Linked DNA regions of Homo sapiens: regions 2, 3, 4, 5 and 6 are each linked to region 1. The links are contacts of gene promoters, found by promoter capture Hi-C in blood cells and fetal thymus (Javierre and others, 2016). All regions are on one chromosome and are shown on one strand. The core of a region is centred on a gene start or on the middle of the fragment in contact, and the rest is flanking DNA. Distances in the headings are between cores, read along the strand shown. Region 1 holds the start of SPIRE1 (spire type actin nucleation factor 1). Region 2 overlaps PRELID3A (PRELI domain containing 3A). Region 3 overlaps LOC105371998 (a long non-coding RNA gene). Region 4 overlaps SPIRE1 (spire type actin nucleation factor 1). Region 5 overlaps SPIRE1 (spire type actin nucleation factor 1). Region 6 overlaps SPIRE1 (spire type actin nucleation factor 1).

Evidence for each region. Contacts are between HindIII fragments. The CHiCAGO score rates a contact against its expected background, and 5 or more counts as called.
Region 2: a contact is called between a fragment that was not itself captured here and the fragment with the promoter of SPIRE1 in region 1, in 11 of 17 cell types (M2 macrophages, M1 macrophages, megakaryocytes and 8 more). The highest score is 19.5, in M2 macrophages.
Region 3: a fragment that was not itself captured here is called in contact with the fragment with the promoter of SPIRE1 in region 1 in 5 of 17 cell types (M0 macrophages, M1 macrophages, endothelial precursors and 2 more); the score reaches 12.5 in M0 macrophages.
Region 4: a fragment that was not itself captured here is called in contact with the fragment with the promoter of SPIRE1 in region 1 in 5 of 17 cell types (M1 macrophages, M0 macrophages, M2 macrophages and 2 more); the score reaches 21.1 in M1 macrophages.
Region 5: a contact is called between a fragment that was not itself captured here and the fragment with the promoter of SPIRE1 in region 1, in 4 of 17 cell types (M0 macrophages, M1 macrophages, M2 macrophages and 1 more). The highest score is 16.4, in M0 macrophages.
Region 6: a contact is called between a fragment that was not itself captured here and the fragment with the promoter of SPIRE1 in region 1, in 3 of 17 cell types (M1 macrophages, M0 macrophages and M2 macrophages). The highest score is 11.4, in M1 macrophages.

What each region holds. Positions count from the first base shown.
Region 1 is chr18:12,656,184-12,660,098 of GRCh38, reverse strand. It overlaps SPIRE1 (spire type actin nucleation factor 1), which reads left to right and starts at 1,992. Exons shown (of 17, transcript NM_001128626.2): 1 at 1,992-2,569. The coding sequence starts at 2,233. It also overlaps a transcript of PSMG2 not described here. RefSeq lists silencers at 1,533-1,682, 1,733-1,802, 1,805-1,973, 1,843-2,262, 2,453-2,572. The HindIII fragment of the contact is 7,532 bases long and covers 1-3,915 here.
Region 2 is chr18:12,418,308-12,422,222 of GRCh38, reverse strand. It overlaps PRELID3A (PRELI domain containing 3A), which reads right to left. Exons shown (of 7, transcript NM_001142405.2): 2 at 1,730-1,898; 3 at 594-683. Among named protein-coding and RNA genes, the nearest start is that of PRELID3A, 12 kb to the right of the region's middle. RefSeq lists a silencer at 1,590-1,739. The HindIII fragment of the contact is 6,008 bases long and covers 1-3,915 here.
Region 3 is chr18:12,440,118-12,444,032 of GRCh38, reverse strand. LOC105371998 (a long non-coding RNA gene) reads right to left here. Exons shown (of 6, transcript NR_136514.1): 5 at 458-640. Among named protein-coding and RNA genes, the nearest start is that of PRELID3A, 34 kb to the right of the region's middle. The HindIII fragment of the contact is 1,448 bases long and covers 963-2,410 here.
Region 4 is chr18:12,458,185-12,462,099 of GRCh38, reverse strand. The region is part of intron 12 of SPIRE1 (spire type actin nucleation factor 1); the gene reads left to right. Among named protein-coding and RNA genes, the nearest start is that of PRELID3A, 52 kb to the right of the region's middle. The HindIII fragment of the contact is 7,794 bases long and covers 1-3,915 here.
Region 5 is chr18:12,488,363-12,492,277 of GRCh38, reverse strand. All of the region lies in intron 8 of SPIRE1 (spire type actin nucleation factor 1), which reads left to right. Among named protein-coding and RNA genes, the nearest start is that of PRELID3A, 82 kb to the right of the region's middle. The HindIII fragment of the contact is 1,214 bases long and covers 1,427-2,640 here.
Region 6 is chr18:12,507,069-12,510,983 of GRCh38, reverse strand. The region is part of intron 5 of SPIRE1 (spire type actin nucleation factor 1); the gene reads left to right. Among named protein-coding and RNA genes, the nearest start is that of PRELID3A, 100 kb to the right of the region's middle. The HindIII fragment of the contact is 5,609 bases long and covers 1-3,915 here.

The DNA.
Region 1 (3,915 bases), core at 743-3,242:
TGTGTTTGGCTGTAGTTGTCCAAGTGCAATGGGCAGCAGTATCCCATAAGGCCAGGAGGTGGTAGTGTTGTCCATAAAAGTAGACCTTCATTTTTTTTCCTGGATTGTTCAAAATATTTTAAACCAGTCTGTATTTGCAAAATCCACACAGGATAAACTTTTGAAATAGCAAAATTTGGGAATGTTTGTCTGTTTTTAATCAAGAGGACAGAGATATATTTATATGTATATAGTGTCACACATAAGGAATTACATGTTTGCCTCTCTGGGCTTTGGCACACATAGATACTGCATTGCTACAAATGAGATTATGAACCTATAATTAAGTGATGCTACTTTAAGGGGTTGTTTTGTCTCTCTCGTACTGAAATTATAATAAGTTGCCTGGGGAGCTTTCTTCTCCTCTTTCAATTTATTATTTATTTTTTTGAGACAGACTCTCGCTCTGTCCCCCAGGCTGGAGTGCAGTGGTGTGATCTTGGCTCATTGCAACTTCCACCTCCCAGGTTCAAGCGATTCTCCTGCCTCAGCCTCCCGGGTAGCTGGGATTACAAGCGTGCGTCACCACACTCGGCTAATTTTCTTTGTATTTTTAGTAGAGACAGGGTTTCCCCATGTTGGCCAGGCTGGTCTCGAACTCCTGACCTCAGTGATCTGCCCGCCTCAGCCTCCCAAAGTGCTGGGATTACAGGCCTAAGCCACTGCGCACGGCCCTCTTTCAATTTCTTAATTTTCCTTTTCGTCCTGTTGCTTTTCTCCCTCCTCCCCATTCCCAGCTGTATGTAAGATGGTATCTCATTTTAATAGACTGTTGTTATTTAAATAGACTGTTGTAGTTTCTACCGCAAGATGCAATTGTTGAGAGCGTGATTTCTAACATTTTACATAAAACTGCCGTAAAAGGTTTACTGGAACTTAATATACATTGCCTATTTGGTTGATGCTTTCAACACTCTGTAGGGCTTTCACACAGGACTAGCCTCAGTGGAATTTTATCGATTAAATTAATCTACCAATGGGTGATTAAGAATTATCTGTTTTATTGCATATTTAATAGGTTGGGGGGGCGGAATTCTTTCTTTCTACGGCTAATTGCCCTCAGTTCAATTTTACCACTGTGATATTCATTCCACATGCTCTGATGAGTGTGGTACTTGAGACATTACCTTAGTGAGGGAAGGGACCAATGTTACAAATGAATCCGGAAGGACGCTAAAACTAACACCTGCAAATTATGTACATGTTTATATTCCAGGCGCTGGTTTAGCTTTTGGGAGAAGTCAGTGAGGAAAACCCGTAAAGATCCCCGTCTTTACGGTGCTTACCCTGAAGATGGGAGTGGAGAGGGAGGTATTCAACCAGCAAGAAATCGGAAAACGCGCAGAGCGGCCGCGGGGTCACGGGAAACTGCCGGAGGCTTTCAGGGCCCAGGGCCCGGCGGGGAGGCTTCAGCGGGCCTGCATTTTCTTAGGCATCCGCTCCAGGCGGGTTCAAGTTTTCAACCAGACCTTCGGCGATCCAGCGCCTAGGGAACGTCAATGCGGGTGACTTCTCCCGCTGTGCAGGGCGGTGACCCGGGTTGGCGCGCCCAGTTCCCCGCCAGAGTCGGCCGGGGACTTCCCTGATAAATGCGACACCCTCTTGCCCCTGCGCCCCCCGACCGCGCGCCCGGCCCCGCGTGTCCCCCACGCCCCACAACCCTGCACGCCCTACCCGGCCGCGCATCCCCTCCGGACCGTGCGTCGCCGCCCTCACCATTGCGCCCCCAGCTGTGTGTCCCTTGCGACCGGGCCCCCCGACCGGGCGTCACCGCCTGCGACTCTGAGAGCCCTGCGGGCTAGAGACCGTGCGGCCATCTCGCCTCGAGGCGAGGCCCTCCTGCCTGGTCCTCACCTCCAGAGCGTGCATCCCCCGGCCCGTGCGGCCCCCTAAGGGGCGGGCGCTGGGCGGCGCTGGACGGCGCGAGGCGGGGCGGGGCGGGGCGGGGCGCCGGACGCCATCGCGTCGCTACCGGCCGGCGGCTGTCTGACCGGGACTGCAGCCGTGTCCTCGCCGCCCTCCTCTTGCCCACGCCTCCCGGGCACTCGCCTGGTCCCGGCGGCGGCGCGCGCGGCCGCGTTGGGCGGCGGCGGTTCCGGGGATGGTGAGGCGGCGGCGCGCGACGACGATGCTCCGGAGCTGAGGAGACGCCGGCACACGGCGCGACTGCCGAGCGCAGCGCCCACCCGCGGGATGGCTCAGGCGGCTGGCCCGGCGGGCGGCGGGGAGCCGCGGACTGAGGCAGTGGGCGGCGAGGGGCCGCGGGAGCCCGGGGCAGCCGGCGGCGCGGCCGGGGGCTCCCGGGACGCGCTGAGCCTGGAGGAGATCCTGCGGCTGTACAACCAGCCCATCAACGAGGAGCAGGCGTGGGCCGTGTGCTACCAGTGCTGCGGTTCCCTGCGCGCCGCCGCCCGCCGCCGCCAGCCCCGCCACCGTGTGCGCTCGGCCGCGCAGATCCGCGTCTGGAGGGACGGCGCCGTCACCCTGGCGCCCGCGGCCGACGACGCGGGAGAGCCGCCCCCAGTTGCGGGTGAGGCCGCCGGGCCCCTTTCCCTCGTAGTTCTTGGAACACCCGCGGCTGGGCCGCCTTACCCTCAGCGTCCCCGGCCCTTCCGCCCCCGCCGTCCCCCCCCATTTTGCCACGGGAGACCCCCGGGAGGATCCGGCGGGGACCCGCAGGGGAGGACGGCGTCAGGCCGTGGCTGGCCGGGGCCCCTCGGAGGTCAGAGCCTCGTGGCGGGCGACGGCGCAAATCCGCTGTGCGGAGGACGTTTGGGTGGGCCTGGGCCTGCGGGCCGCGGGGCGCTCGTCATTGTGCTGCCCGCGGGACAGCTGCCCGCGGCGCGTTTGGGAGCGGTGGGCTGGGCCCTGCTCCGGGCCAGCGGCCTGTGCGCCTCACGCCGTGGCTGCTGACACACGGCCGGGTTCACGGGGTGGGGAGGGCATCGCAGGCTTCACGCGGGGGCTCCGCACGGATCCTCAGTGCCGCTGTCGGAAACACCGCACTCCTCACGGGAAACTAGCAGTATTCCACATTAGACAGCCTTTCCTCGGTTCGGAAATGTAAAGATGATTCTGAACCGTGAGAATTCTGCTCTTTGGGGAGAAATGGAAAAATAGACTAAATAGTGATTTTTGGCTCCTGGACGTTAGAAAATACTGATTGCATTCCTGTATGTGAAAATTTGTTGTGATGAAAAACAGGCTTGTAAAGTGAAAAGTTGACAGGATGTCGGGATACAAAGAGAAAATGGGCCTTAGTTACGTCATTGTCTAATGTAAAATTTTCAGGATTATGACCTAAACAGTAATTTATAGCCAGGGTTTACTCAGATGCTCATTGAAGAGGAGGAGGAGGTTGAGAAAAGGTTTCTCCCATCAGTTTTTATCTAATTCATTCTTTTGAGAGGCAAGTCTATTAAAAACATAGAAAAACAATCTACCCTCACTTTTAGAAAGTTGATGGAAATGTCAAAATGCTTAAGGTGAAAGATGTAATTTCGAATTAGTAAAATGACATTTAATGAAAACCCTTGTCTAACTTGATTAAAACAATATTCAAGGTTATAGTTATTCTTTCAGTTCCACCAGAACGTTTTTATCTTTTATTTTTTAGTGTCAGGTAAACACATTTTTATTTACATGCTTTTATCTTTTATTTTTTAGCGTCAGGTAAACGATTTTTTATTTAAAGCCATCTTTTTAATTGTTCTTTTGAAACTATTTCAAATAGTATTTTTGTTTCTTTGATGGGCTTATTGCTTTTAAACTTGGACTTAATCTTAGTGGGAAATACTTGCAATTATAATTTATAGTGTATTAAATGGTACAAAAGATACATTTATAAAATACAGCAATGTCTGCCAGGTGCGGTGG
Region 2 (3,915 bases), core at 413-2,912, 240 kb after region 1:
AAAAATTAAAAAAAAAAAAAAAAAAGCACGTTGAAAGGCATCACTTGAGACCAGGAGTTTGAGATCAGCCTTGGCAACAGCGAGATCCTATCTCTGTGAAAAATAAAAATAAAAAAACAGCCAGGGATGGTGGCACGTGCCTGTGGTCCCAGCTATTTGGGAAGCTGAGGCAGGAGGATCACTTGAGCCCAGGAGTGCGAGGCTGCACTGAGCTATGACCACACCACTGCACTCCAGCCCGGGTGACAGGGCAAGACCCCATCTTTAAAAAAACAAAAACGTCTGCTGGTTGTCAGGACAGTGGTTATCCTGTGGGGGGTGCCCAAGGGGTCTCAGGGGCTGGTCAAATTCTGTTGCTTGAACTGCCTGCTAGTTAAGAGGTGCGTTCTTTGTGACAATTCATCATTATGTGCATTTTTCTATATACTTATTATACTTGAATAAAAAGATAAACTGCTAAATGAATTCAGCCTTTCTGTTAAAAATAAGCAACACCTAGACCAAAGGTGGGCTGGAAATAGAATTAAACGAAGGCCTTACGCACCACCACCCAGACACACTGAGCCCGTTTCTCATCTGAGGCCATTGCTTACATTGGTAGAACAAAGTTCCATTTTCTTTTCCACTGGATCCACCACAGAATGTTCTCGGATGTATGTCAATGTCCTACTGGTTCCCAAAATCTAGAAAACAAAGCAAAACTAGCATAGTGGAACGTTAAAAATTCTACTTCATATCACCACCGAATACCATTGCATTTACTAATTAGTTCACTATTCAAGAAATGATATCATGGGATGCAGCAAGGGACAGAGACAAAACCCCTGTGTCCAGGGCGCTTCCGCTCCAGCAGGTGAGCCACTGAGCAAAGAAATGAATTCCAACAGAGTGGAGCGTGCAGCAGCACTATGCTCCCGGCAAAATAAAACAGGCTGCGGGCAGTGGAGCTAGGAGGCCCCTCTGCCGGGCGGAGTCTGGGCAGAGCCCCAAAGAGGAAGGTACCACCATAGTGCTGGGGTGGGGGTGTCAGGCTGGGGGCAGCAGGTGCAGGCCCCTGCAGCAGGAGCTGGGCTGACTGAGAGGCCTGCGCCAGGCCAGGGTGTGGACTGCAGGTGGAGGCGAGATCCAGGGGCCGGGTTGGGGTGAGCCGTGCTCAGATTTGCATTTCCAGCGACCTCCCTGGCTCTGAGGAAGAGGCCACGGGGGGCTGAACCATGGTGAAGCCTAATCCCGGTGCCCTAGGATGCGGCTGGCTGCGGACGCTGGGCTTTAGAGGCGGTTAAACCAGGAGGAGGGGCGCCTGGCAGTGCTAATCCAGCAGGCCCGGGCCCTTTGGGAGGACAGATGGGGATGCCAGACGCCACGCGCCAGGCAGAGCCTCCCGCGACCCCCGATCTCGAGGAAGACCCCCCCACCGTCCCCCCACCCCGTGACCCCCGATCTCGAGGAAGATCCCCCCCCACCGACCCCCCACCCCACGCCCCCCGATCTCGAGGAAAACCCTCCCACCAGCCCCCCAGCCCGTGCCCCCTGATCTCGGGGAAGTTCCCCCCACCGCCACCCCCACCCCGCGCCCCCTGATCTCAGGAAAGGCCCCCCGCCGCCCTCCCACCCCGATGGCAGCCAAAGCAGCAGAGGCACTGATGAGGGGAGGAGGGACGCGGGAGAGGGCGGGGGCGGGAGTGGGGGAGTCGGGCGCGTTCGGAGCCGCAGCCCCCGCCCCGCTCACCGCTCTCACGAGGCTGGGCAGCCCCCACTCGGTGCTGAGCAGGCGCAAGCTGTGCAGGCGGCCGCGGCCGTCCACGCGGCGCTGTAGCACATCCACGCCCAGCACGCTCGGGTTCATCGGGTTCGGGTACTTGCGCATGGCCGCCTGGATGACCGTGTCCCACGGGTGGCTGCGGGGAGAGCATAGGCGGCGGTGAGCAAGCGCCGGGGCCGGGGCCGCAAGGGTGAAGGGGAGGAAAAGCCGCCGCCAGGCCTGGGCAACGCGCTAGTCTCTTCACTTTAATGAAAGGCTGGTCCGACAAATCTGAGGAGTCCCGCGAGCCCTCCCCGGCCGCCGGCTCAGCACCTGCACGCCTCGGCACCTGGCAGCCCCTTGGTTTTTGTTTGTCTGAGACAGGGTCTCACTCTGTCGCCCAGCAGGCAGGAATGCAGTGGTGCCATCAGGGTCACTGCAGACTCAAACCTCCCAGGCTCAAGTGAACATCCTGCCTCAGCCTCCTCTTGCCCCACCTCCAGTAGCTGGGACTACAGGCGTGTGCCACCAAACCTGAATGACTTTTTTGTTTGAGACGGAGTCTTGCTCTGTCACCCAGGCCGGAGTGCAGTGGCGCGATCTCAGCTCACTGCAAGCTCCGCCTCCCGGGTTCCCGCCATTCTCCTGCCCCAGCCTCCGGAGCAGCTGGGGCTACAGGCGCCCCCCACCATGCCTGGCTAATTGTTTTCTATTTTTTAGTAGAGAGGGGGTTTCACCGTGCTCTCGATCTCCTGACCTCGTGATCTGCCCGCCTCGGCCTCCCAAAGTGCTGAGATTACAGGCGTGAGCCACCACGCCCGGCCTAACTTTTTAAATTAATTAATTTTTTTTTGAGATGGGGTCTCACTCTATCACCCAGGCTGGAGTGCCGTGGCACGATCTCAGCTCACTGCAACCTCCGCCTCCCGGGTTCAAGTGATTCTTCTGCCTCAGCCTCTCTAGTAGCTGGGATTACAGGCACCCACCACCACACCTGGCTAATTTTTGTATTTTTAGTAGAGATGGGATTTCCCCATGTTGGCCAGGCTGGTCTGGAACTCCTGACCTCAAGTGATCCGCCTGCCTCAGCCTCCCAAAGTGCTGGGATTACAGGCATAAGCCACCACGCCTGGCCAACTTTTTTTTTTTTTTTTTTGATATGGAGTCTCGCTCTGTCACCCAGGCTGGAGTGCAATGGCTCTGTCTCGGCTCACTGCAACCTCCACCACCCGGGTACAAGCGATTTTCCTGCCTCAGCCTCCCTAGTAGCTGGGACTACAGGTGCCCGCCACCACACCCAGCTAATTTTTTTTTGTATCTTTAGTAGAGACGGGATTTCACCATGTTGGCCAGGCTTGTCTCAAACTGCTGACCTCGTGATCCGCCTGCCTCAGCGTCCCAAAGTGCTAGGATTACAGGCGTGAGCCACCGTGCCCAGCCCAACTTTTTATTTTAACAATTTTTTTAGGTCTCATTATGTTGCCAGGTTGATGTCGAACTCATGGCCTCAAGCAATCCTCCTGCCTTGGCCTCCCAAAGTGCTGGAATTATGGGCATGAGCCACCGCACTCAGCCTCCCCTTGTTTTATTTCCTGCCATCAGAGTGGTTGCAAGTCACCCATTGCTTTCCAGAGCTCTGCACTTGTTTAGGCCTGAAACCTGCAGGGTCAGACACACGTCTGAAGGGAGCCAAGTGAGGGGCCACCACACCTGTCCAGCATGGACCTTCCCCCGGACTGCTAAGGGGTTGCTAGCAAGTCACTTTATTGCCCTAATTGTCCTAATCCACCCTTCCTTCAAGGTGTGCTCTCTCCCAGGAAGCCTCTGAGCCTCCTGCAAGGACAAACATTCTCTGACAAGATCATCATTTCTTCAGAAGTGCCCAGAGAGGTTTGTCCAGCATATGTATAGACACAGCCCAGAGGCAAGCCCAGATGTGTGCACACACCTATGCACCATCACATTCACATGTGTGCACATATGCATGCAGACACACATACATGCACATGCACACACATCTTGAAAAATTAAACTGGGATTACACTCAATATATGGGTTTACCATCCATTTTTTATAACTGCTGATAAACATTTTCCTATATCATGAAGCCATTTTCAGGAATATGATTATAAACAGCTGTACACTAGGTCATCTTGTGGCTGTGTATATTTCAC
Region 3 (3,915 bases), core at 437-2,936, 220 kb after region 1:
ATCCATTCTGTAGCCCATGGATCAAGGAGTAAGTTTTACTTTTACTTAAGAAATACACTTCATAAGGCTTTAGCTGTCACAGGCAGTGGTTCCTCTGATGGATCTGGGCAAAGCACATTGAAAACCCTCAGGAAAGGATTCACCATTCTAGATGCCATTAAAAACATTGGTGATTCATGGAAGGAGGTCAAAATGCAACATGAACAGGAGTTTGGAAGAAGTTCATTCCAAGACTTCAGTAGAGGAAGTAACTGCAGATGGGGTGGAACTAGCAAGTGAACTAGAATTAGACATGGAGCCTGAGGATGTGACTGAATTACTGCAGTCTCATGAGAAAACGTAAATTGCTGAGGCATTGGTTCTTGTGAATGAGCAATGTGGTTTTTTAAGAGGAAATCTACCAGCGAAGATGCTGTGAACATTGTTGAAGTGATCAAAGATTTACAGTAGTGCATACTTAGTTGATAAAGCAGCGGCAGGGTTTGAGAAGATTGACTCAGATTTTGAAAGTAATTCTACTGTGGGTAACATGCTGTCAAACACCACTGCATGGTACAGAGAAATTTTTCATGAAAGGAAAATGCAGTTGATGCAGCAAACTTCATTGTTTTGTAGAACGTGTCCCTCAGCAGACGTATTCCTGAAATACGAGCAGAGGAAAGTTCTTGTGTTTTTATCTTAACTAAGAATGCATGGTTTACCTTCTAAATATCTTACACATTATATAAAGTTGAGTTTTATATTAATCCATTTACATAACCTGTTCCCTCAGTTGCCAGACATTTCTTAGGAGCCCCTTCCTCTGAAGTTCCTCTGTGATATGTGTATGTCAAGATACTTGTGTGTATGTGTCCAACTCATAATCCACATGTCCAGTGACTAAGTCCAAGTCATAATCTTTGACTCGTGCTTCCTGTATTGCAGATATACAAAGAATTTGGATACCATAAGTAGGAAAAGCTTTGGGTAACACATATTTAACTTTTTTCTTACCAGCTCCAGTTGAGGAAAAGATGTACAGTTGTAAATCACAGTCTACAATTTCATAAAGAAAACTATCTTTAGGAAAGGGCTTGATTGCACACACGAGTTATTTAAAGACTCCTTGGCCAGGCATGGTGGCTCATGCTTGTAATCCCAACATTTTGGAGGCCAAGGCGAGTGGATCAGGAGTTCGAGACCAGCCTGCCCAACATGGTGAAACCCTGTCTCTACTAAAAATACAAAAAATTAGCCTGGCGTGGGGGTGGGTGCCAGTAATCCCAGTTACTCAGGAGACTGAGGCAGGAGAATCGCTTGAACCCGGGAGGCGGAAGTTGCAGTGAGCTGAGATTATGCCACTGCACTCCAGCCTGAGCAACAAGAGAGAAACCCAGTCTCAAATAAATAAAGACTCCTGATATCGCTGCAGAATGTGCAAGTGCTCGCACCAGGCACATGCACACACACATTGATTATAATGCTAATAAAAGGCGTGGTGCTTCCCTCCTATTAGCCAAAGGCATGCGAAACCTCTCCCTTTGCCCACCCAAAAAAGTTTTAAGAGCTAAGACCTTAATATAAAGCTCTAGGCCGGGCACAGTGGCTCATGCCTGTAATCCCAACACTTTGGGAGGCCGAGGTGAGAGGACTGCTTAAATCCAAGAGTTGAAGACCAGACTGGGCAACATGGCGAGACCCCCATCTCAAAAAAAAAAAAAGAAAAGGCCTCTGCCTACACGAATCAAATGTTCAGATGCAGGCCGGGCGCAGTGCCTCACGCCTGTAATCCCAGCACTCTGGAAGACTGAGGTGGGTAGATCACTTGAGGTCAGGAGTTCAAGACCAACCTGGCCAACATGAGGAAACCCCGTCTCTACTAAAAATACAAAAATTAGCTGGGCATGGTGGCGCGCACCTGTAGTCCGAGCTACTCAGAAAGCTAAGGCAGGAGAATCGCTTGAACCTGGGAGGCGGAGGTTGCTGTGAGCCGAGATTGCGCCACTGTACTCCAGCCTGGGTGGAAAAAAAAGTTCAGATGCAGTTACCTGGAAGACTGAATTTTCACCACTATTCCAGCTCATCTTGTTAACATACACATGGTGTCTAGTATGTTAGCCATTGCCGTGCAGGGCACTGCAGCTGTGCTCCCGATACTGGTGGCTGCCTCGGAGCCCGTTTGATGGAAGCAGTGACAGCAAGCGCTCCAGAACTGACAGGACAGCGCTCCGGAAATGTGGGGCATCTGGAAGTTTATGTCCTCAGGGCTTGAGAGCTGAAGAAGCATCTGCATGTTTGACACAGCTTAGTATTCAGATTTCTTTTGGCACCAAGAGGGCCAGACACTGTGGGTCCCGTGCTGGGAATGGTCACAGCTGCTGCAATGAGGCAGGTTGTCTGTGAATCGAGGGCATGCGGCTCACTTGAAGCTTGCCCGTCTTGTATACATTCTTCTTTGCTTTGGGGCTGCCTTCTGACTGCAGCAATCGTCTATCTGTTGTCCCTGATCTGCCTCCATCCCTAACCCCCTTCCCTAGGGTGACAGCAGAAAGCTTCACATCCCAATTCCTCCCAGCAGCAAGAGTTTTTAGGAGAGTAGAAAGCCAAAGATGAGGATTTCTGCAGCTCTAACCTGAACCTCAGGCTCGTGAGCAGACATTGTGTGGAGCCTCTAGGGAATAGCGTGGCCGAGGAGGGAGCGAGCCCACGTCTGCACAGGAGAGCCTAACGAGCAATGCAGCTTCTACAGAAAAGTCACTCCTTTTTTTTTTTTTTTTTTTTTTTTTGAGATGGAGTTTCGCTTTTGTTGCCCAGGCTGGAGTGCAATGGCGCGATCTCGGCTCACTGCAACTTCCGCCTCCCCACGCTCCCCACCCCCCTCCCTCCAGTTCAAGTGATTCTCCTGCCTCAGCCTCCCGAGTAGTTGGGGACTACAGGCGCCTGCCACCACGCCCGGCTAATTTTGTATAAAGACACGGGGTTTCTCCATGTTGGTCAGGCTGGTCTCAAACTCCTGACCTCAGGTGATCCGCCCACCTCAGCCTCCCAAAGTGCTGGGATTACAGGCGTGAGCCACCATGCCCACCCAGTCACTTCTTTTTCTAAGAGAGAGGGTCTCACTCTCAGCCAGGCTGGAGTGCAGTGGTTCAGTGGTGCAAAGCTGCTCACTGAAGTCTTGAGCTCCTGGGCTCAAGCGATCCTCCCTCATCAGCCTCCTAAGTAGCTGGGACTACAGGTGCATGCCACCATGCCTGGCTAACTTTAAAAAAAAAAAAATGTAGCGACAGGGGTCTCCCTATATTGCCCAGGCTGGTCTGGAACTCCTGAGCTCGAGCGATCTGCCCACTTCGGCCGCCCAAAGTGCTGGAATTACAGGTGTGAGCCACCATGCCTGGCCACTTTCTGTGTGTGCTTTTGTTTGTTTGTTTGTTTGTTTTTGTTTTTTGAGATGGAGTCTCACTCTGTCACCCAGGCTGGAGTGCAGTGGCACGATCTGGGTTCACTGCACCTTCCGCCTCCCGGGTTCAAGCAATTCTCCCGCTTCAGCCTTCTGAGTGACTGGGACTACAGGCACACACCACCAATGCCCAGCTAATTTTTGTATTTTTACTAGAGATGGGGTTTTGCCATATTGCCCAGGCTGGTCTTGAACTCCTGAGCTCAAGTGATCTGCCCGCCTCGGCCTCCCAAAATGCTGGGATTACAGGCATGAGGTACCGTGCCAGGCCTTAAAGTGATAAAACTTTCATCTTAAATATCTCAAAGGGAAAAGAAGCCTAAGAATTCAGCTTGCCCACCAAGGGGAACATGACTCGAGAGAAGAAGCCACTAGGGGGGCATCCACCACAATCTCAAGGTTGCTGCAGAAGGCAGATGCACAGAATATCGGCTTGGACCAGGGGCTCTGGGTGTGACTGGTTGGACACTGCTCCAGGT
Region 4 (3,915 bases), core at 863-3,362, 200 kb after region 1:
CAGCTATTCGATTAAATATAGCCTTGTCAGTGACTTACCAACAAGAAAACAGAACTCTGACCAGACAGATTCAAACGTAAAAATCTAAAAATTTGTTTTCATGTGAATAAGTTATTGCTTTTACCAAAATATACAGCTATTATCACAACTTTAAAATATGTAAGAGGGTCCAGGCACAGTGGCTCACACCTGTAATCCCAGCACTTTGGGAGGCCAAAGGAGGAGAATCGCCTGAGGCCAGAAGTTTGAGACCAGCCTGGGCAACTTAAGAAACCCCTGTCTGTACAAAATTTTTAATTAAAAACTTAGTTAGATGTGGTGGCGCATGCCCGTAATCCCAGCTACTCAGGATGCTGCAGAGGGAAGATCCCTTGAGCCTAGGAGTTTGATGCCACAGTGAACTAAGAATGTGCCACTCCACCCCAGCGTAGATGACACAGCAAGACCCTGTCTCTAAAAATATATATACACACATATGTGTATGTGTGTGTATATGTGTGTGTATGTATGTATATACATATGTATGTACATACATATACACGCATGTATGTATATACATATGTACGTACATACCACACATATGTATGTACGTACATATGTACGTGCATACACACATATGTATGTACGTACATATGTACATACATACACACATGTATGTATATACATACATACACACACACACACATACATGTGTATAGGTAAGAGGGAACTTGTGGTTTTTTTCATAAGTCTAATCATTAGGGTATTCTCTTCTTCACTCAGCTTTTCCTAGAAGCCAGTCTATCATTCAGCTTGTAACTGGCCTTTATGTGATCATACAATGTCATTATTGAGGTTAGACTTAAAGTTTAAAATTAGCAATGTAAAGGAACTATCAGCTTAGCTACAAGGTAGTTTCAGCTTATAATAGAAGTTATGCTGAGACCTTCAGCTGACCCCAAGGGCCCATGACTGTGTCTGTTTCCTGTTAAAGCAGAGCTCTTAGTGTTGCGAGGTCAGGCCGTGCACTGTTTTTTTGTGGAGCAGGAAGGAGAGCAAGATAAACTAACTTGCAATCACTGAGGAAGGTCTCAGTGAGCAGGCAGTGGGAGAGCCGCTCTGCTCAGCACTGAACAGTGGTCAGATTGAGGGCAGGGAGCAGAGTCCACGCAGGCCTCCAAGCACCAGCAGAGACGAAATGATCTTCCTTGCTAATAGCTTATCTTGGGAAATCCATAAAATCATACCTTGTAGTAATGCCCTATAGCTTGGTAAGTATTGTTTTTATAAGTGTAATTAATTTTTAAATGTAGCTGCATTTTAGAAAACAAAGAATCATTTTGTATTTGTAACTCCTCAACTGAAAATGGCAGGAATGTTTTTATTGTTGATAATTTTTTTTTTTTTTGAGATGGAGTTCCGCTCTTGTTGCGCAGGCTGGAGTGCAATGGCTCAATCTCGATTCACCACAACCTCCGCCTCCCGGATTGAAGCGATTCTCCTGCCTCAGCCTCCCAAGTAGTTGGGATTATAGGCATGTGCCACCACACCCGGCTAATTTTGTATACTTAGGAGAGACGGGGTTTCTCCATGTTGGTCAGGCTGGTCTCGAACTCCTGACCTCAGGTGATCTGCCCGCCTCGGCCTCCCAAAGTGCTGAGATTACAGGCGTGAGCCACTGTGCCCGGCTGATAATTTTTATTTTTGTTGTATCTCCCTCCCTTTTCTTGTGATGTTTAAAATGTCATTTTTTTTCATCATTTGGTCAAATAACCGAGGGCAAATGCCCATCCAGTCTAAAGGCACCTCGTGTTGGCAGTACCTTCCTGGGGCAGGTGCAAGTGGCTGCCTGGCACATGTCCCCATGCTTTCTCAGGCACAGTAACGAGTTGCCTCTATCCTTCATCACAACAAGCCCCACTGAGGAAACTCAGAGTGTTTGCAGGACCCTAAATTAGAAAAATCCTTGCTGTGTGAACGCTGAGATTCTCCAGGAAGGACTTCGTGGTTTCATCACTGATTTATACGTGTGGATGCAGATGTTCGCACGGACTGTACCAGCCTCATGGTGTTTTTTGTTTTGTTTTCCTTTTGTGATCTGTAATCACTATGTGTAGGTCACTTGTGTTCAGCATTATTTTCTCCTTTTCTTTTCCCCCTGCCATTTTCTTTTTCCCTTATCTGTTGTTCAGGTTCCTAGGATAACCAGTGTATGGCCAAGGACGCCTTTTCGACCACTTTTTTCTACCATACAAACAGCTTCTCTGCTCAGCTCTCATCCTTTTGAAGCAGCCATGTTTGGGGTAGCAGGGGCTATGTATTATCTGTGTGAGAGAGCTTTTACCAGCAGGTGGAAATCCTCAAAGGTTGGCCTCTTTCTGCTGGGTCTGGGATTATTTCATTCTCTGTATCTCTGACGGTGACACCTCAACTGTTGCGTTCTCTGAGAATTAACCGCTTAGATAGCACTTTGCTTCCAATCATTGATTCCACCCTTGTGCAGGATGCACCGATCATGCCGTGGTCTCAGTTGAGGGAAATAACTGGGAAAGGACAACAAACTCAAAATGCAGCATCTGATGAAGGGGACCTGTGGGTGTTTGTCTCCTCGGGTGACCTAATTGTATAGCAGAGTCAGTGCTGCCACCTTTCTCCATGTGCAGCAGGCACTCTGAGCCCGTGGGGTGCATTCCTCCTAGGGCCTCCCCCCACCATCAGAAGAGTATTTGCTCACTCATTCCGTGAGCAGAGCATCCTCCTGCCAGGCCAGGTAGCCATGGTGGACTCCGCCCACCCACAGACACCTGCACAACCAGGGCATGGGCTCAGGAAACCTGTGTGCTCCCATCACCTGTCATGAAGCTGTGTTATGACAACCAGGGTGTGTACGTCACTTCTCTGCAAAGAGAAATTTCAAGTTTCCTTTTTAATGATGTGGCTATTTTAAATAATTCTGCATTATATTACTGTTTTTTGAGGTTTTTTTACACAGAATAATATATCATTATTTGAACCTTCACAATTCTACGTGAAATAAAAAGCTCTACGACCATATTGAAGCCTCTTCTGCCACCACGTAGCAGGTGCTCAGAGCAGCCTTTGTGCTACAGTAGGCAGGGCCTGGCTCTCTAAAGCCTTGGATTTACTAACCTTGTCCTTGACAGATGACCCCGCAGCTGGTTTCTTTGTTACTCTTTCTTAGTCATCTTGATATGGAAAGGAGACTCAATGTAAATAAGACACAAAACATTCCTTTCTCTGATCTTTGTCATGAAATGCAGGAAAAACCTCTGTCCTTTTTCCCGTTTTAGATGTGCTCTTGGGCAGCACGTGGTCAGGTGCCACGGTGGCTTTTTAACTCCTGTCACTCCTGCCTCTACTGAAGACCTGCTGGCATTTGATTATCAATTCTCCCCAAACAGAGATATCTGAACACTAAGGCCATATACCACTTTAGGCAAAGAAAGGATTCACTTTGAGTTTTGTTTGTTTGTTTTTGTTTTTTTTGAGATGGAGTCTCTCTCTGTCACTCAGGCTGGAGTGCAGTGACGCGATATCGGCTCACTGCAAGCTCCGCCTCCTGGGTTCACGCCATTCTCCTGCCTTAGCCTCCCGAGTAGCTGGGACTCCAGGCATCTGCCACCACGCCCGGCTAATTTTTTTTTGTATTTTTAGTAGAGACGGGGTTTCACCATGTTAGCCAGGATGGTCTCCATCTCCTGACCTCGTGATCCGCCCACCTCGGCCTCCCAAAGTGCTGGGATTACAGGCGTGAGCCACTGCGCCTGGCCTTCACTTTGAGTTTTGTAGTTGATTAAGAAGAGTAAACTTAATAGTTGCTGTTTTTATTTAAATTTGCCTCTCTTTGGTTTATTAAAAACTCAAAAAGCAATGGTTATTTTGGGTAATTTTCAAATACTGGTTAATTTATGAAGT
Region 5 (3,915 bases), core at 784-3,283, 170 kb after region 1:
GGATCTGGTTTTGTGACCCCCACTCTGCTAGTTTTCTCCTCTGATCTCTTCTTCTGCCTTTTTCAGACTCTTGGACTTCAAAGTTTCTATCCTGGCTTCTGTTCTCCCTAAGCAACCATACCCTCTTCCATGGTTTTTGTTTCTGACTACCTTCCAGCTCACAGTCTACATTGCAGATCTGTAAAAATGCAGACTCATACGTCCAGCTGTCTGCTAGATAGAGCCTTATCATATCCTACAAGCAAGACAAACCCAATATTTCCACAAGTGAACTCATCCTGTCTCTCCCCAAACCATTGCATTTTGTTTTCCCAATGTAGAAACCTTAACATAATCTTTGACTCTTACCCGATGGCCAACCCCTGTTGATTTTACTTCCTCTGGATCTTTTTAATCTTCTACTCTTCTCAGCCCAGCAGCCACTATCCCAGCCGAGGCTGTCATCTGTCGCAGCAGCACTGATTGTCCTCCTGCTTCCAGTCTTGAATTCTTCCACCATTCCATATTGATTTTCCTTGTTTAATCCTGACCCTTCTGTTGTGTGACCTTCGTGATGACAGGGCCCATGTCTGTCTTGTTCGTTGTTGTGTCCCTAGTACAGCACTGGGCTGTACAGAGTACTCTCATGGGTTGAAATAATTAAATGTACTTTCTGGTGACAAAGCTTCAGAGTGGATCACTTGAGCCCAGGAGATCAAGGCTGTAGTGAGCTGTGATTGCACCACTCCACTCTAGCCTGGGTGAACCAAGATTCCATGGAAAGAAAGAAAGAAAAAAAAAAGATCAGTTGACTGTATATGTGTGGGTTCATTTCTGGACTCTTTGTTCTGTTCCACTGTTGTTTGCCAGTACCATGCTGTTTTTGTTATTGTAACTTTATAATATATTGTAAGATCAGAAAGTGTGATGTCTCTGGCTTTGTTATTCTTTCTCAAGATTGATTGGCTATTCATTGTCTTTTGTGGTTCCATAGGAATTTTAGGATTATCTTCTACTTCTGTAAAAAATACCATTAGGATTTTCTTGGGGATTCTATTGGATCTGTATATAGCTTTGGGTAGTATTCACATGTTAACAGTAAGTCTTTCAATTCATGAATATTATTCTTCCATTTGTTTCTGTCTCATAGTTTTTGTATATAAGTCTTTTACCTCCTTATTAAATTTACTCCTAGATATTTTATTCTTTTTGGTGCTGTTGTCAATGGGATTGTCTTTTTGTTGTTAGTGTATTGAAAAAAATTTTTATGGAGTTTTCTATCTGTAAGATCATGTCATCTGCAAACAGGGACACTTTTATTACTTTCTTTCCAATTGGATGCCTTTTATTTCTTTTTTTGCCTAACTGCTCTGGCTAGAACTACCAGTACTATGTTGAATATAGAAGTGGTCATCCTTGCCTTGTTCCTGATTTTGGAGGAAAAGCTTTCAGTTTTCCCTTATTGAGTATGATGTTAGCTGTCAGCTTTCCATATGTGGCCTTTATTATGTTGAGGTAATTTCCTTCTATTCCTAATTTGTTGAGTGTTTTTATTTTGAAAAGGTGTTGAATTTTGTCACATGCTTTCTCTGCATTTGAAATGATCATGTGATTTTTATTCTTTATTCTGTTACGGTGGTGTATCATGTTAATTGATTTTCATGTGTTAAGCTGTCCTTGCATCCCAGGGATGAATCCCACTTGGTCATGATGTATGATCCTTTTATTGTGCTGATGGATTCAGTTTGCTAGTATTTTGTTCAGAATTTTGAATCTATATTCATTAAGGATTTTAGCCTGTAATTTTGGGGGTTTTGGCCTCGTAAAACAAAATTAGAAGTGTTCTCTCATCTTCAGTGTTTTGAAAGAGCTTGAGAGGGATTGGCATTAATTCTTCTTTCAATATTTGGTAGAATTCACCAGTGAATCCATCTGGTCCTGAACCTGCCTTTGTTGGGGAGCTTTTTGATGAGTGATTCAATCTCTCATAGCAAGCCATATTCTTCAGTTTCACTTTTTAAAATTATATGTAGTTGCTAATGGGAACCCTACTTTAGAATAATTAAATAACATTTTTATGTTAAGTATGTCTTTATTTTAACCTTGACAATTGGTATTTCACAACCACCAGAATTGAGCTGTTACAGAAAGATATTGTTCTGTGAGAGTGTTACTTCTAGAATTCCGAGTTCAAATGGATATTAAACCCTAATTGTAAAGTAAGGGATTTTGGTCATTTTTTCTACAGAACTACATTGGTTCTTACTATACAGTTTTGCTTTGGGGAGTTCAGTTCTGATAATATTGGCAGAATTAACTTGAAGAAAAGTTTCCCTAAATATTTGTATCACTTTCCCCTACATGTAATTGCAAGTAGGAGCTCAATGCAGCAATGGCAAAAATGCCTGAATGTTTAAAGATGAAAATGTTACCCATAATAACAACAGCCGGAGGCATCCACTGTGAATTTACTTGTGCATTACAAAATGAGGATGAAAACTGTGTATATACAGTACTTTGTTATCTGCATCTAATGGTTTATTTGGCATGACCATCTTCCTATGTCATTAAATATGACTCCAAATACGATTTATAAGGATGTGATCTCCTAACAGATGGCTAAATTGGGTTTTATTTACCTATTTTCCTGATTCACAAGCTTTTTCTATTTTTTCCTAGTAAGTCTGAAATTACTATTCTTGTACATCAGTCTTTGTTCATGTCTCTGATCATTTGTTTTCTTCTAAACATCTTAATTGACATCCTCAATTTTTGTCCTCTTTTTGATATAGAGATTGGAAAATATATAAATGTCATCTCCCAAGAAATAATTGCATCCCCTTCTTAACACAGTAGTCAGCCTTATTTCAAAAGATATATTCAAGTGCTAGAGAAAAAAAGAGCAGAATAAAAAGATATTAGAGAAGATGGAAGAGTGCTGTGATAATATGTAATACTTTATTTGCTATACATAATTAGGACAATCTAGAGTAGGTAATATAGGAGTTTAGAAGTACGGTTTTTTGAATGGTGAGTGGAAGATGTTTTTTTTCTTTACTTTTTAGAAAACTTTTCCGAGATAAGTTCAAGGAAGATTATTCTTTCTTTTTTGAGACGGAGTCTCGCACTGTCTCCCAGGCTGGAGTGCAGTGGTGCGATCTTGGCTCATTGCAAGCTCCGCCTCCTAGGTTGACACCATTCTCCTGCCTCAGCCTCCCGAGTAGCTGGGACTACAGGAGCCCGCCACCAAGCCCGGCTAATTTTTTGTATTTTTTTTAGTAGAGACGGGGTTTCACCATGTTAGCCAGGATGGTCTCAATCTCCTGACCTCATGATCCACCCGTCTCGGCCTCCGAAAGTGCTGGGATTACAGGCGTGAGCCACCGCGCCTGACCCAAGGAAGATTATTCTTATCAACACAAAATCCCTAATCAATTTCCTATGAGATAATTAAAACACAGTAAAATGCCTGTTTAAAACATACTATACATTAGGATGAAAATACTTAAAATATTATTTCCCAGTCCTTGAACAGTAAGTATGATTGTTAAATAATAGTTGATTTATTTGCCACATCTAACATGCATATCCCCTTTATTGACGTGTGTATATCTAAAAACATCTACATATGATTCTGACATCTTGCTAATGTGTGCTTGGGATGTAAATAAGTACTTTTCCTTCACGTCATTTTTTTTTAATATTGAGCTTTTGGGTTGTAAATAAAAATTATTCCTTTAAAACCAGCTGCTAAAATACACACTGAGACATATTTACATTCCATTAAATTGGGGTATTAGAAGTCTAGAGGCTGTCTCCCTGGAAAACAGCAACTAGAGAGACATTGTGCCTGATATGCCTGTACTTCCGAAGCTACTGCTGCTCTGCAGTGTGTCCGTCTCCAACCACAAAGGCCCTCCCCACTGGGCATAATCC
Region 6 (3,915 bases), core at 911-3,410, 150 kb after region 1:
ATATCTACAGTTTTTCAGGCATAGTACTAAATCCTAGTGACTCCAAAAATCCCTGCTGTCATATAAAACTTAGAGTTGGTAGGCATGACAGTCTTGGGTACAGACAGTGAATGTTGTGGAGTGTGTTAGATTGTGGAAGTCCAAGGACAGGTGTGGTGGCTCACACCTGTAATCCCAGCACTTTGGGAGGCTGAGGTGGGCGGATCACCTGAAGTCAGGAGTTCGAGACCAGCCTGGCCAACATGGCCAGCTATCCCACTAAAAAATACAAAAATTAGCCAGGTGTGGTGGTGCACACCTGTAATCCCACCTACTTGGGAGGCTGAGGCAGGAGAATAGCTTGAACCTGGGAGGTGGAGGTTGGGGTGAGCCGAGATCGCACCATTGCACTCCAGCCTGGGCGACAGAGGGAGACTCTGTCTCAAAAAAAAAAAAAGAAGATTGTTGAAGTCCAGGTATTGGGGGAAGGCACATTTTAGGATTCTGACTTTTTAGGTTAAGAATGCTAGATAAATCATGCCATTATCATATGAATGGGTTGCTTTTGACCATATTAGGTTTTAATTGTCACATTATTTTCTAACTTTTATTGAGATATAATAGATATACAATAAGCTGCACATATTTAAAATGCATAACTTGATAAATTTTGACATATATTTTGTACATATATATATTCAGCCATGAAACCATCACCACAATCAAAATAATGAACCTATTTATCACACCCAAAGTTTCCTCATACCTTTTTATGATCCTACCTCCTGCCTCCCTCCTCCCCAGTTTCTAGGCAATTAGTCATCTGCTTTCTGTGACTATAGACTAGTTTGCACTTTCTAGAATTTTATATAAATGTAATCATATGGTATATACTGTTTTTTTAGTTTTTTTTTTTTTTTTAGATGGAGTCTTGCTCTGTCGCCCAGGCTGGAGTACAGTGGCGTGATCTCGGCTCACTGCAACCTCCGCCTCCTGGGTTCAAGCAATTCTCCTGCCTCAGCCTCCTGAGTAGCTGGGATTACAGGTGCGCACCACCACACCCAGCTAATTTTTGTATTTTTAGTAGAGACAGGGTTTCACCATGTTGGTCAGGCTGATCTCGTACTCCTGACCTACCTGGTGATCCGCCCGCCTTGGCCTCCCAAAGTGCTGGGATTACAGGTATGAGCCTCCGCACCCAGCTGGTATGTACTGTTTTTGGTTTGGCTTCTTTCACTCTTCATAATTGTTTTGAGATTTCATCCATGTTGCTGTCTGTATCTGTAGAGTATTGAGAAGTATTCCATTGTGTGAATATATCGCAGTTTATCTCTTCATCTGTTGCTGGTCATTTGGGTTGTTTCTTGTTTGCAATATTCTTAATTTATTGATAGATATCTTCAAGATATTTGTAACATTCAAGACAAAACAAAAATACTTGCCTACATTGTCTTAAAAGCTGGTATTATTTGTCATTTTAGAATAAAATTGATTATTGATTTTCCTTTATGAAGAATACTTGGATAGTGTTGTTCTAAGTGTATATCATCTTGGCCAATAAATTTTAAATTGGTTTTCCCAGCCACTGAAACCAGATAAATAACTTCCAGTGTTCAGAAGTTAGCAAACAGCTAGTATAAACTTAAAGTAAAAATTTAATTTCTTACTATAAGCCACCTTCATTTGAAAACTAGTGTCATCCCTGACAAGAGAAGCACTAACTCCAGAGGGAGTTATATTTGCGTAGATCACCAGCTTCCTCCTCATAAGACCACTAAGTGAATTACCCAGAAAGATTAGAATGAAAAGAGCAAAGAGTTAAGAGAGAATTAGAATGTCTTTACTAGCAGATTCTAGTTTCAGAATTTCCCTAATGGGATAAGGGATAAATTATAATCTCCAGGAATGCATATGATGACAGTTGTCTGTTATTTTATATAATAACTGTGACTTTAATTTCTGAAAAGTAGTATGTAAAATTTTTTAACCAAACAATCATGCACACAAAACCGACTATGTAACAAAGTGTGGGCCAGGCACAGGGCCTCACGCCTGTAATCTCAGCACTTTGGGAGGCCAAGGCGGCTGAATCACTTGAGGTCAGGAGTTCAAGACCAGCCTGGCCAACATGACGAAACCTGTGTCTACTGAAAATACAAAAAATTAGCTTGGCATAGTGGCGGGCACCTGTAATCCCAGCTACTCAGGAGGCTGAGGCAGGAGAATCACTTGAACCCGGGAGGCAGAAATTGCAGTGAGCCAAGATTGCACCATTGCACTCCAACATGGGGCGACAAGAGCAAGACTCCGTCTCAAAAAAAAAAAAAAACCAAGTGTGTTTGAATCCTTTTATAAATTATAGCAAAAGTTTCTAATGTGGGTAACTGTCTCCTGTCTCCTAATTTAAAGCCCAAAGGGAGACTTTTAAAAGATGAGATGATATTTGAACTGCATCTTAAAGGAATGAATAAGAGAAATGTGGAAGTTGGGACAAAAGCATTCCTGAGAGAAATATGGATATTTTAGGGGTATTATTTTAGAACATCTTTAATGGCAGAATCTAAGAATCTTTTTAAATATGAATATTTTAGGAGGCATCTAATGGTACACCATAAGTACCTCAAATCCTTTTTGGAACAAGAGGATGGGAAATGGTATGGTTTTTATATTTTTTGGTAGCTTCTTATTGTCCAAACCCAACATTTTTTTAAAATTATGAATCGTTATTGAGGATGTTTTGAGAAATTTAATCAGTTATTTTACATAGAAGATTCTTATGAAATATATCACTTGATTTTACAGCAAATATATTTAAGTAACTATTGTGTCACTTTATTTTTTTTTTATTTTTTATTTTTTTGAGATGGAATCTCACTCTGTCGTCAGGCTGGAGTGCAGTGGCACTATCTCGGCTCACTGCAACCTCCGCCTCCCAGGTTCAAGCGATTCTCCTGCCTCAGCCTCCTGAGTAGCTGGGACTACAGGCACGTGCCACCACACCCGGCTAATTTTTTGTATTTTTAGTAGAGACGGGGTTTCACCATGTTAGCCAGGATGGTCTCGATCTTCTGACCTCATGGTCTGTCCACATCAGCCTCCCAGAGTGCTGGGATTACAGGCATGAGCCACTGCGCTCAGCCATGTCACTTGTTAATTTTAACAAGTTACAGGTTTTTAGCTAAATATTGTGATGGACTTCACTCAAGTAGAGACTTTGACACATTATAGGCAGGAGAACAAAAGAGTTAAAGTATAATACAAATATAAATAGATTTTGTATTATTTTATGTTTTTTTTTTATTTTTTGAGACAGAGTCTCACTGTGTCGCCCAAGCTGGAGTACAGTGGTGCGATCTGGGCTCACTGCAACCTCTACCTCCCGGGTTCAAGCAATCCTCCTACCTCAGCCTCCTGAGTGGCTGCAATTACAGGCGCACACCACCACACCCAGCTAATTTTTGAATTTTTAGTAGAGACAGGGTTTCACCATGTTGGTCAGGCTGGTCTCGAACTCCTGACCTCAGGTGATCCACCCTTCTTGGCCTCCAAAAGTGCTGGGATTACAGGTGTGACCCATTGCACCCAGCCTTTTTTAGTATTTTCTATGTATAGAACACCATCTACTGATTCTGATCTTCTCAACAAGTGATAAAGTACCACTTTCTTTATTGATGAGGAAACTACAGCTCAGAAAGGTGCAGCAACTTGCTCCGTGTCAAATAGCTGGCAAGTGGCCTTATCTCAGTCAGCTGTGGTCACAGTAATACCGTGTAACTAACCACTACAAAATCACAGCCGCATAAAGCAAAAGCACTTACTAACTCATGGGTCTCCAGATCCCCTGTGGTAGCTCCACTTTACAGGTATCTCATCTTTATCCCGGGACCACAGGCTAACCCAGGCTTGACATTTTCGTGGCCATAATAGAAACACAAG